3 separate regions of the Homo sapiens genome follow, and all the other regions are linked to region 2. Evidence: promoter capture Hi-C in 16 types of primary human blood cells and fetal thymus (Javierre and others, 2016). All regions are on one chromosome and are shown on one strand. Each heading gives the region's core, a stretch centred on a gene start or on the middle of the fragment in contact. The rest is flanking DNA. Distances are from core to core; before and after follow the strand shown. Region 1 has its middle 120 kb from the start of TTLL2. Region 2 holds the start of LINC01558 (long intergenic non-protein coding RNA 1558). Region 3 has its middle 180 kb from the start of TTLL2.

What was found. Contacts are between HindIII fragments. The CHiCAGO score rates a contact against its expected background, and 5 or more counts as called.
Region 1: a contact is called between a fragment that was not itself captured here and the fragment with the promoter of LINC01558 in region 2, in 1 of 17 cell types (endothelial precursors). The highest score is 5.8, in endothelial precursors.
Region 3: a contact is called between a fragment that was not itself captured here and the fragment with the promoter of LINC01558 in region 2, in 1 of 17 cell types (endothelial precursors). The highest score is 7.6, in endothelial precursors.

The regions. Positions count from the first base shown.
Region 1 is chr6:167,444,546-167,447,804 of GRCh38, reverse strand. No RefSeq gene overlaps it. Among named protein-coding and RNA genes, the nearest start is that of TTLL2, 120 kb to the right of the region's middle. The HindIII fragment of the contact is 1,217 bases long and covers 1,102-2,318 here.
Region 2 is chr6:167,795,362-167,799,029 of GRCh38, reverse strand. It overlaps LINC01558 (long intergenic non-protein coding RNA 1558), which reads left to right and starts at 2,171. Exons shown (of 4, transcript NR_026773.1): 1 at 2,171-2,421. LOC441179 (a long non-coding RNA gene) reads right to left here and starts at 3,501. Exons shown (of 1, transcript NR_149041.1): 1 at 782-3,501. RefSeq lists an enhancer at 1-72. The HindIII fragment of the contact is 6,189 bases long and covers 1-3,668 here.
Region 3 is chr6:167,500,243-167,503,833 of GRCh38, reverse strand. No RefSeq gene overlaps it. Among named protein-coding and RNA genes, the nearest start is that of TTLL2, 180 kb to the right of the region's middle. The HindIII fragment of the contact is 5,644 bases long and covers 1-3,591 here.

The DNA.
Region 1 (3,259 bases), core at 461-2,960, 350 kb after region 2:
GTCTTTTTAGTAGAGACAGGGTTTCACCGTGTGAGCCAGGATGGTCTCGATCTCCTGATCTCGTGATCCGCCTGCCTCGGCCTCCCAAAGTGCTGGGATTACAGGCGTGAGCCACCGCGCCCAACTGATTTCTTTATCTTGCAGGATGTCAGCACTCTCTGGCTGTGCCTAATGCCACCGGCATCCCATCACAAACCCACAGGGATGTGGCTATGTCTTTATGAAGGCACTTCCCCCTGCAGTGTCCCCTAATAAGCATCAATAGTCAGCTGAGCCACTGGAGCTGCCAGCACCCTCACTCACTGATTAGTAAACAGGCATTAAAGACTTGCTTAAATTTCCACAGAAATAATAATGGGACTGGAAGCTGGGTGTCTTTATTTATGAAGAACCCATGTATTCCTGGATATCCACAAGGTCTTTGTGGGTTAAATTTCCTTACTATCCATCTGAAGGTTGACGACTCAGCTTACAGTAGGCATGCCTGCCAGGTAACCCCAGACGCCAGCGGCAATGGCTCCTCCTGCATATGGAAGGGCATTTTCCTGACAAGCCCATAGAAATGTTGGTTGTGGAGCTCAGCAGAATGTGTGATATTATCCATCGCGCAGCCATGGCTGGGTTTCTAATATAACAAAGTGAGAACACGCCAGTTTGGATATACCATCTGTGCCGCTAAGTTAGCAGTTCTTGGGGCCCTTATGTTCTATTAATGCTCTTTTCTTCCGTGAATATATATTAGCATATGTGTGTGTGCATATGTGTGTTTGTGTGTATATATGTGTGTGTGCATATATATACTTACATGCGTGTGTGCATACACACACAGACATATATTTGCTGAGCTTCATCTTCCACTTTTCTGTTATAAAAACTTTAAGTCACTTCTTATCAATAATGAGTACCTCCACGCTGTAATCTAGTTTATATGCCCTTTCCCTAAATATATGCTTGGAGAGGCCCATTCGTTTCTTGTGGGTGTGGTTCAGTTTCTGAAATGTTAGGAGTGTAGACCACCCTGGAACAACCTAGTGTTTCTGAAACAGACAAATTAAGAATGGGTCAGGTAGTTCCTCTGTCCTTCCCTTGGCTGAGCAAGCTTCAGTCCTGCACAAGTCCACTTTTCCAAAGCAGGACAGTTTACGAGGTGTGATGGTGGCGAAGTTCTAAGCCTTGCTCAGAGCTGGTGGCTCATGCGGACCTAGCCCTCGGCCGCCCACCCTGAGAGCTCTTACTGCTTTCCTTATTCCACAGTCCCCCTCCAGCCGGGCAAGGTGTCCCTCATCAGGCCGTGCAGCACTCACAGTAATGAAATAAAGTTCAGGAGCCCCTGCTCCCTGCCCCCGTCAGGGCTTCAGGGTGTCCTAGGGGCAGTGGGACATCCTAGGCCAGCTCAGCCCATCTGTGGGGGCCTCTGGTAAATGTGAGTCAGTGCTGAAATAATGGGGATTTTTCTCTTTCTCTCCAGGTGAAGCAGAGCGCTGGCCCTGCCCCCTCCTTTTCCCAGCATCAGTGACAGAACAGCTGTGGCGCTCTGCTACATTGCTGAACATTAAGAAAATATCAGATTTGCCCAGGAGCTACAATTGGTATCTCTGTGAATTGATGAAATTTGCATGAGGAGAAATAGGATCATCAATAATTAAGTGCTCTAAGCTCTCATCTTCAGAAAGCGTTGAACAGAAGCAGAGGGGAAACGTGTAGGGTCGCGGGTGAGGGGCAGCACGACACGGGGATTAGCTGGGGGATAATGGTGAAATGTTCAAAACTAAAGGCCCACAAGGAACCTGGAGACATTCTAAAACACTTTATTAAAAGCCAAAGGAATGCTAGGTCGCCCCAGAATTTATTATTTAAAAAAGCCAGTGGAAGATACATCCTATGTCAAAAAGCCAAGAGAAGGTGCAACTAATTTTTTATAGGGACGTGACACAAAGGAGAAAGTCAGACAGGAATCTATCCTGCAGTTGTGAAGTTGTGAGGTAATGCAATGTGCAGCACTTTGTCACTCCACAGATATTGCCAGCACTTCTTCTGTTTCAGGCTTGGTATGCGGAGCTGGCGTTAAATCTGTCTTCAAAACCAGCCATGGTTTCTGCCACTGTGAGTCTGAGCCTGGGAGGAGATGGGCCTTCACCGAATCACGCAGGTGGAGACACGCTGGGTGCTGGGGACGGTGGGGCTGGTGCAGCAGGGAGCCCCTGCAGGAATCAAGTTCTGGTGAGATCTGCATGAGAAGATGAGGGGCTTCCCAGAGAGGGGAGATGGGACCCAGTAACTGTGATAAAGAGCAGCATCTCCGGACCCTGAGGCAAGCTTATCTGGGCAAAAAGCACCCGCAAACTTAAAGGGAAAATGATTTTCCATATGCAGGTAGGATAAAACCTTTGGCCTCACAAAGGGAGATGGAAGCTATCTGGGTATGGCTGAAGTAGACAGGGCAAGCCCTGCTCCCCACTTTGCAGAAAACCTAAGAGAATTCCTGCAAGAAGTAGAGACCATGGCCTCTCCTAGTGTCTGTTGCTCTCAGCAAATACCCCATGAAATTGAAGAGCTGAATTCTTAAATAGGTCCATGAAGAATCAAGATAAACTCATTAGCAGTAGATTTACAAGGAGCTGAGCTATGAGTGACAGCTGGAAATTGCCTGGTAGGTGCCAGGCTCCTTGCATTGATGCTGTAGGACACAAACTTGTCATTTCTTGTGGGGAGTTTGACAGCAGAGCACTGAGTTGACTCCAGGTGGAGTTCATGATGCCCTGTGGGCGCTGGTGTCACTAACTCCCTGCTATCCCATGGATGTCTTTCTCCTTGTGTACACTTGAGACTCAGCTGACCCCCTGGGTCTGCTCATAGAAGAGACCAGAATGTTCACTCGTTTAACCAACACTGCTGCTGAGAGTTGGGGAGCGTGCAGAGCCCACTGCAGAATTGGTGGTTTCTTCCGAAGGTCAGGAGGTTAGCAGAAGGTGGGAGCGGGCTTGGTAAGGTAACAAAGTCTGGAAGCTGAGTGACACCAAGTGGTCATAACTTTTTGGCGTGACCACTATTACCGGAGTGTTTGCTGTGTGCCAGGCTGGGTAAGTAATGGCAGGCAAGACGGGCATAGCCTACGTCCTTGTAGGCCTCACAGTTTAGCAAGACATTTATAAACAGTCTGAAATTGCCAGAAGGCTCAAGGTAGCTTATCTATATGACATTATTTCTTTGTTCATTCTATAGACCAGAGGTCCATGGGTTGTTGACAGAACCTCAAACC
Region 2 (3,668 bases), core at 922-3,421:
GGATCAGTTTTGGGTTCTGCTTGACTTTGATGATAAATATGGAATTAAAAAATCAATCTATGAAAATGTTATTTAATCTCAGAAATCTTTCCTGCCTTATTCATTAATGTGATTATTTGTTTCTTAGTCAATGCCACCTTCTTCTATAACTTTCTACGTAGAGGGGGAAAAGCCCCAGTATTTAGCACTCTGAGTTTTATAAAGCGTCTTCACACTTCTCCTGTCTCGCGTCACTACCCTTTGATAGCATTGGGGAGGGACTTTTGCTATTTCCATGTTACAAATGGGTCACGCAGGCACCCGGAACTCGAGTAACTAGCCCATGCCTGCGAAGCTCCCACCTGGAGTGGGGGACTAGAGCCAGATCACCAGACCCAAAACTGAGGCCTTGAGGAGGAGACTACGAACGTGGCGGTGGAGATGTTTATCTCTTCACAGCGGCTGAGTTGTCTCTACTTTATGGGCTGCGAATACTTTCTGGCTTGTCATCTAGGAATCTCTTGGCATCTTTTTACCAAGTTTAATATCACAGAGCTATAAGGCTTAGAAGACCTCAGAGGCCATTACAGCCAACCCCCAGACTCCTATTCTGCATCCAAATTAGTGATAACACGTTATATAATTCCATTAAAAAAACCCAACCAACGAACCTTTTAGTACCTTCCTAAAAGAAGAGTTTTTCTTGAACACGGTGCTAACTAACCAATTTGATTGAAACCACCCGATATTTTGACATGGTAAAAAGCATATTGTGTAATAGAAATACAATGAGAGTCACATATGTGATTTAAAATTTTATTGAGCCATATTAAAAAAGTAAAAAGACACACACTCTTCTCGTGCGACACAGAACCGGGACCCCCGTACAGAACATTTTACTGTTTTCCCTTAATACCCAGGAAACATGCACTAACCTGGTAAATACCTGCTTCATGGAGAGTAGTCTTTCAGGATTCATACCCTCAGGACATTGTTGGGGACCTACTGGACTGAACAAAGGCGGGCAACACGGGAATAAAAGACAAGAGACAACAGAGTATATTTGGAAGAAGGGGTTAGGGGCACCTTGCCTTTAGTGGACAAGGGCCCTGAGCTTTACACAGCCCTCCGTATTTATTAGGCAAAAAGAGATAGCGAGAAAGCTGGGGGAGGGGGGTGATTGTCAGTCTGCCGTTTGGTTCACAGTAGTCTTGCATTTTTTGGACAATAGGCACTAGATTTTTTAGGCAGATAACTTTAAGGAGCCCGGAGCTAGGGAGTGATGTCTGTTAGCAAACCTTTTGGTGGCAGGGCAGTGTGAGTTTGCCCACATCCTGCATTCATGATAAACAGTTTGCTGTTTGTAGCCTCCAGCGGAATGCTGAGTTGGTCACGTCCCCCACGGGCCTTCGGCTCCCTGCAGGACACCACCGCCTAGACATTTGCCCACATTTGCTGACCTACACGCAGACACTCTGGCTGGTCTAGACACTCAGGGCCTTTACTCCGGCTCCCGCCAGAGGCCTGAGAAATCCACACCTCACTGATAGCTCCATAGCTCACCAGCGTCCGTGGTGAGCCAGTTTCCTTGGCGGCAGCATCCTCCGCCTTGGGAGAGGCCGTGGGGACCGTACTGAAGAAACTGCCACTCCGAGGCATTGCTCCGTGCTGGGCACTGCCATTGAGAAGTGCACCTAAGCGGCCACCAGTGAGCGACGACCACGCATGAACAGGAATGTTCTAGAGCGGAATGCACCTATGAAGGCTGAGGCCTGCGCGAGAACCTGCACCTGGAAGCCACCCTGACACGCTCCTCCCCTCGGGGCAACGTCCACCTCCTCGCTGTAGGGTGGGGAGGATGCCGCTGCTGCTGTGGACGGGGAGGGCCAGCGCGTGCGCCGCGGCCAGGGAGCCGTAGAAGCTCAGTCCCATCCGCCTTTCTCATGCCCCTTCCCTTTCCCGTCCTCCCTCCTCTCCTCTCACCTGCGTGGTAACAACGATTGTGACACTCGGTTTTCTTAAGAGGTGCACGTGATTCATTTTTAAAATTCCCTCAAAAGAACGTTTTCTTGAATTGAAACTAATGATCAAACAGAAGCTAGGCCGGGGGCAATGGCACCACCCTCTCTGCTTCCCTCAGTTCCACTCCCCTCCCCGCCACGCCCCACCTTCCTGCTCAGTGTGGGCTGGGGCGGGCAGCAGGCAGGACACGTGGAAACGCAACCGCCAGGAGGAAAGGCGGGACACAGCGGGAAGGGAGGTTTGCCTCCCCTCTCTTCCTGTGGTGACCCCCACCTCACTTACAAAAATCACCACCGACGTTTGGGAACCGTGCACGCCGACTGAAAGCAAAGCTCAGCTGACCTGCGAGGAGTCCCCGGGGAGCTGCCGCGGTGGTCGCCGTTGAGTCCGTCCGTGCCGCTGGGGCCGAGGCAGCTGGAGGTGAGCAGGTGCGGGCGGTGCGGCCGGATGGAGCCCACCAGCAACCGGGTGGAGGAGCCCGCAGCTCTCCCAGCTGCTGCCTAGCTGCTCCCTGCCCTGTTTTGAATTAGCGGTAGCAGAAAGAAACGGCGGAGCAGCGGCCCTCGGTGCCCAGAGGCCTGGCAGTGCAGTGCATCCTCTCCTTGTGCTGCAGGAGGTCAGAGCCAGCCAGGGAGGCAACTGCCTGCTTGGTCTGCCGGTGTCCAGACCGTATCCAGAGAGGGCGTGGCTGGATCTGAGAAAAGGCTGGCACCGGCCAGACTGGCAGTGGCTCAGTCCTGCCTGGCAGGAGCATCCACGGACTGGCTGGCCAGAGTGCAGGACAGCTGCCCAGGTTCCGCCTGTTCCACAACGTTCTATTCGCAAGGGGCCAGGGGCACTGCCCGCCTGGCCAGGTCTGCTGTGTAGAGGCGTGCAGGTGGCCAGTGACTGGCTGGGCTCCCGGGGCTGCTGCCTTTGCTCTGGGAAGACCACAGATGCCTCCTCTTGCGAGGGGCCTTCTTGTGTGCCGCTTGTTGGGAGATGTGGCCCACCTGCCTCGGGGCGGCTCCTGCAGGGTGGATCTCTGGCCACCCGGCCAGCTGAGAGGTGTCTCAGGGCTCACTCCGAAGCCTTGGCTTGGCTTTGTTCTCATTTCTTCTTTTGACCTCAAACAGGCCACGGTTCATGACTCTCTCAGGAAGGGATTTTATCTCCATCACTTGCAACTTCTTGGAGCTGAAGTCTGCACAGCACTGTGGAGATTGTCAGATCTGCGTGGACAAGGGAGGGCAGGCCTGGTGGTTTGGAGAAGTAGGGCTATGCCAGAGTGAGGTGGCACGGGGTGCAGGCGGCTTCTTTGAGGGGGACCCGGGGAAGCAGGAACAGGAAAGCCAGCTAAACTGCAACCTCAGTCCCCGTTGAAGACAGCAGGGCCTGAGGCAGCTGCACCCAGACGTCTCCGGAGTTCGTGTTGGTCCAAAGGAGGGAGGCTGGGTGGAGACTCACCTGCTGCAGTCCCCATGGGCTGAGTGTTGTGGAGCTGTCGGCTCCCTTTGTTCGGGGGTCTGTCCAAGCCTGGGCAGCGAGCTTCCTCGGCCTGGGAGGAGCCCACGAGGGGGACGCGGGAGGAGGGCACTGCCCCTCATTCGCTCCGGATGCTTGTCTCATTAGCCGTCAATTCACAGAGAGCAGTTTCCAGTAGAACAATTCCAGAAAAAACCAGAGCC
Region 3 (3,591 bases), core at 367-2,866, 290 kb after region 2:
AGAGGGGGTTGGAAGAGAAGTGCCAAAAGCAGCAACATAAATGACATTGGAAGATGCGAGTTCACAGAGATAAGCCGGGAGAGAAGGGATGGAGGGAGGCAGTGGCTGGAGATGGGTGGCATGGTGAGGTCCAGGCTGTGCTGTGCTGCATCCCCTGCTCGGCCCCCACCCCAGGGAGGGATTGGTGCTTATAGGCTTCATGTGTGGTACAAGGAGATGGATGATGCTGATTGTTTTCAGCCCACCTCTTCTCTTAGCAGGGCATACGCCCACCTGACAATTACTTAGTCTGAGTTTAAATTCTTCATCTCAAAGTAAAGAATATGAGAGCATCCCTTTACCCTTAACTAGCACAACTATCAAGAGCCTTCTGGGGCCTCCTTGGGGTAAACTTGGAAACTGCTCAGGCAGGTGGCCACCAATCCTTGGGAGTATAGTTTTTATCAACAACACATTCTTTTCTTGGTGACAAATCTTGCTTCTAAGAAGTTGTCCTTCAGAAGCTGTAATTTTCAGAACATGAGGTGGTAACTCATTGTAAGAAGCCTGTGGGTTATACAAAAGAAAAGGGGGAACGAGACGTATCTTCATGGACAGGGAGCAAAGCTGGTGGGCTTGTCACTCACATTGATGCGACTGATCAATCCAGGGGATGCTGGAATTAAACCAGCTCCTGTGCAGCCCGGGCCGACAGCCCCCATATTTATTTGTAGAGCAGTTTGGTGATAAGAATTGAAGAAGTACTTACTTATGATATTTGAGTTTTCCCAATAAGGCTGGCCATCCTCATTTTGTAGGTGAGGAAAGAGACTTGGAGGAAGTGGGGCTCCGAGGTTGACGCCAGCCATCCTCTGGCTCTCCCTCCTGTACTGTTCCTACTGCTCTCAGAACACCTGCATCTTGAATCACTTGTTTCTCCAACCAGTTCTTTAAGCACCACCCAGGAGTTAAACATTCTAAAACATTTGCCAAATCTTTGTCAAAGCAGGAGCTGGAGGCCAGCGCTTGCCCTGGACAATGGCAGAGTCTGTAAATCCACTTTTTAACACCTGTGGCACCTGTGGGCTCCAGATGGCAGAGGACTCTGATTAGCTCCGTGAACACCATGCTCCAGCAAACAGTGGGAGGCTGAAAGGGAGGCAGCGCTCGTGCATCCACATGGACTCGAATGAAGCCTCCGGTGCTGCTTCCCAGTGTGGACACATTTCCTGGCTGCTTGAAATATCCTCTTGGGCTTGTTAGTGGCTTCGAGCAGGAGCATGGGAGTTGGGTCAGGGCAGGCCCAGGGTGGAGGGGAGTGGGGGCAAAGGGGTGACTATTTGGGAGTTCTGCCCAGGGGGACACTTATTTGTAGGACACTTCCAGATAGTTGAAAGGATATAAAGACTAAAGAAAAAAAAACAGCAATTATCTTGCATGGAGCACAGAAGAATGCCCAAGAAGCACGTACGTGTCAGTCGACGTGAGCGGGGCCTCACTGCTTGGTGACTGCTAGAGAGATGGGGACCGGCTGGTTGAAATCATGGAGACGTTCTCTTCTGCCTTCCCTCCAGTCTGTGGCCCTCCCTCACCCATTGGCAGATGTGCAGATGAGAATCTGGGCACCTGGATTCTGTTCTCTGCTGCCTCCTGCTGCACTCCTGCGAAGGTGCTGGGAACCCCGGCGTGTGGCAGTAACTGTTTCTGAGTCAACGCTAGACGAATTGATTGCGTAGTCTGGGTTCTGATTGTGAGATCCCAGTGTCACTTCAGACGTGTGCCTGACGAAATTTCCCACGCTGCCTTCCCTGTTCACAGCAAACATCACCAATGTGTCTCGGTGCCTTGTCCTAGATCTCTTCCCAACACAATGCTCCCTGCAGCTGCATCCAATGCAGGGAGTTGGCTCATGACGAGGAGCCTGTGGACCTGCGGGCTACAGAGTCATGTGGATTTGGAACCAACCCATGCGCTGGGTCAAATGTGCTGGCTGACAACCACACCTCAGGGGGCTTTGCTGAGATGCAACTTCCAGACCAAGCCACAGGCACTGCGGAAAGCTCCTTCCTCCCGGTGGGGCCAACAGAAGGTCACTTCCGAGGTTCCAGTCTTATCAAACCCCCCATGGCTTGTCTCTTCCCGAATTCTCTCCTCCATGGGTCAGATGTCTGCGGTGCACGTGGCCTTCTCTCCCTCAACATAGTGAGCTCTGCTCAGCCAGCACATCTAACTCAATGCATGGGTTGGTTCCCACATGGGAGGTCTCGTTCATGTTGCTCCCGAGCTTGGGGGGACAACGCCTGCTCTCTCCAAAGCCTAAGCACTGGTGGTGCCCAAGGTGTGAGCACACAGGAGCCCAGAAGGAGGGCAGGATGAGCCACTAAAGGGACCCAGCCAGCTCAGCTGAATGTAGCCCTCCTCTCGTTGCTTTATTCCACCCACCACTGCCCACCGACAGGAATCACTGGAGACACATTTTTGGCTTATATGAGGTCTCAAATTTGTGTTCTTTGAATTAAAAAAGAGGATTGTGTTCTGTCTTGGATCTCCCTTAGATAGCACCGCACTGTCTGGGAGGAGAGCACCAGTGCCAGCTGGGGCAAGAGGGCTGGGGCTGGAGTCAGCACCCAGGGCAGGAGGGCTGTGGCCGGAGTCCAGCAGCTGAGTACTTCGGCCCCCAGGCTCTGTGGTGACCATGGGCCTGGCCGTGGAGGCCGTGGGAGGTGGTGTCGGCCTCATCCTCAGTCTCAGCTGTGAGACTGAGGTTTGCCATGGGCGGGGGCTGTGCGGGCCCAGGGCTAGTGTGGGTGACTCTGGAGACTGGGGAGGGGCAGGGCTTTGAGGAGGGGCATCCTGTATCTCAGTTTCCCCACCCCACTCCCTTCTCCTATTGTGCCACCCTGCAGCTCTGAGAACTGGTTCTTCTCCAACTTCTGTTTCCACTTGAAAGCCCAGGCTCTAGGGGTGAGCTGGGCGGCCTCCTCCCTCTTCTTGGGACGCCTTCCATGCGCCTGTGTGCCGGCAGCACCTCCTTCCATTGCAGACCTCAGCTCAGAGCTCCTCTCCTCTGGGAAGGCCTCCTGGGTTGCTTCGGCTGATGTGGGCACATTTCTCATTGCTCAGTGCCCATAGATGCAGGTGCCAACTGGGTCACTACTGTCTTTCAATTCTGTGGGTCTTGGCTTGTTGGAAACAGAAACTGGGCTTCACGATATTTGTATTTGCAGGCTTACCGTTGTACCGTTGTACCTGACACTCATTAGGTGCTCAATAAACCCTTAGAGAATTCGTAAATCAAGTGGTCTTCAGTTGCTGGTGATGAGGGAGGGGCCCTCTGAAAGGAGAATTACCTGCATTGTAAGGTGAGGCTGGAAGTCTTTGGAAAAACATCATGGGATAATTCAAAAATAAAACCAGGCCTCTGTGACTATTAAATAACCTTGGGCTTTTTGCTTCTGTCTGCCATGCCTGTGTCTGCCTTTGACATAATGGCCACCAACACCAACACCAACACCACTGGGCACAAGATTCAAGATATAGCACTTTAAAATAAGCAACAGATTATTATCCCGGCCTTGAATAAAAGTGTTGGTGTGAGTCTTTTATTTCCAA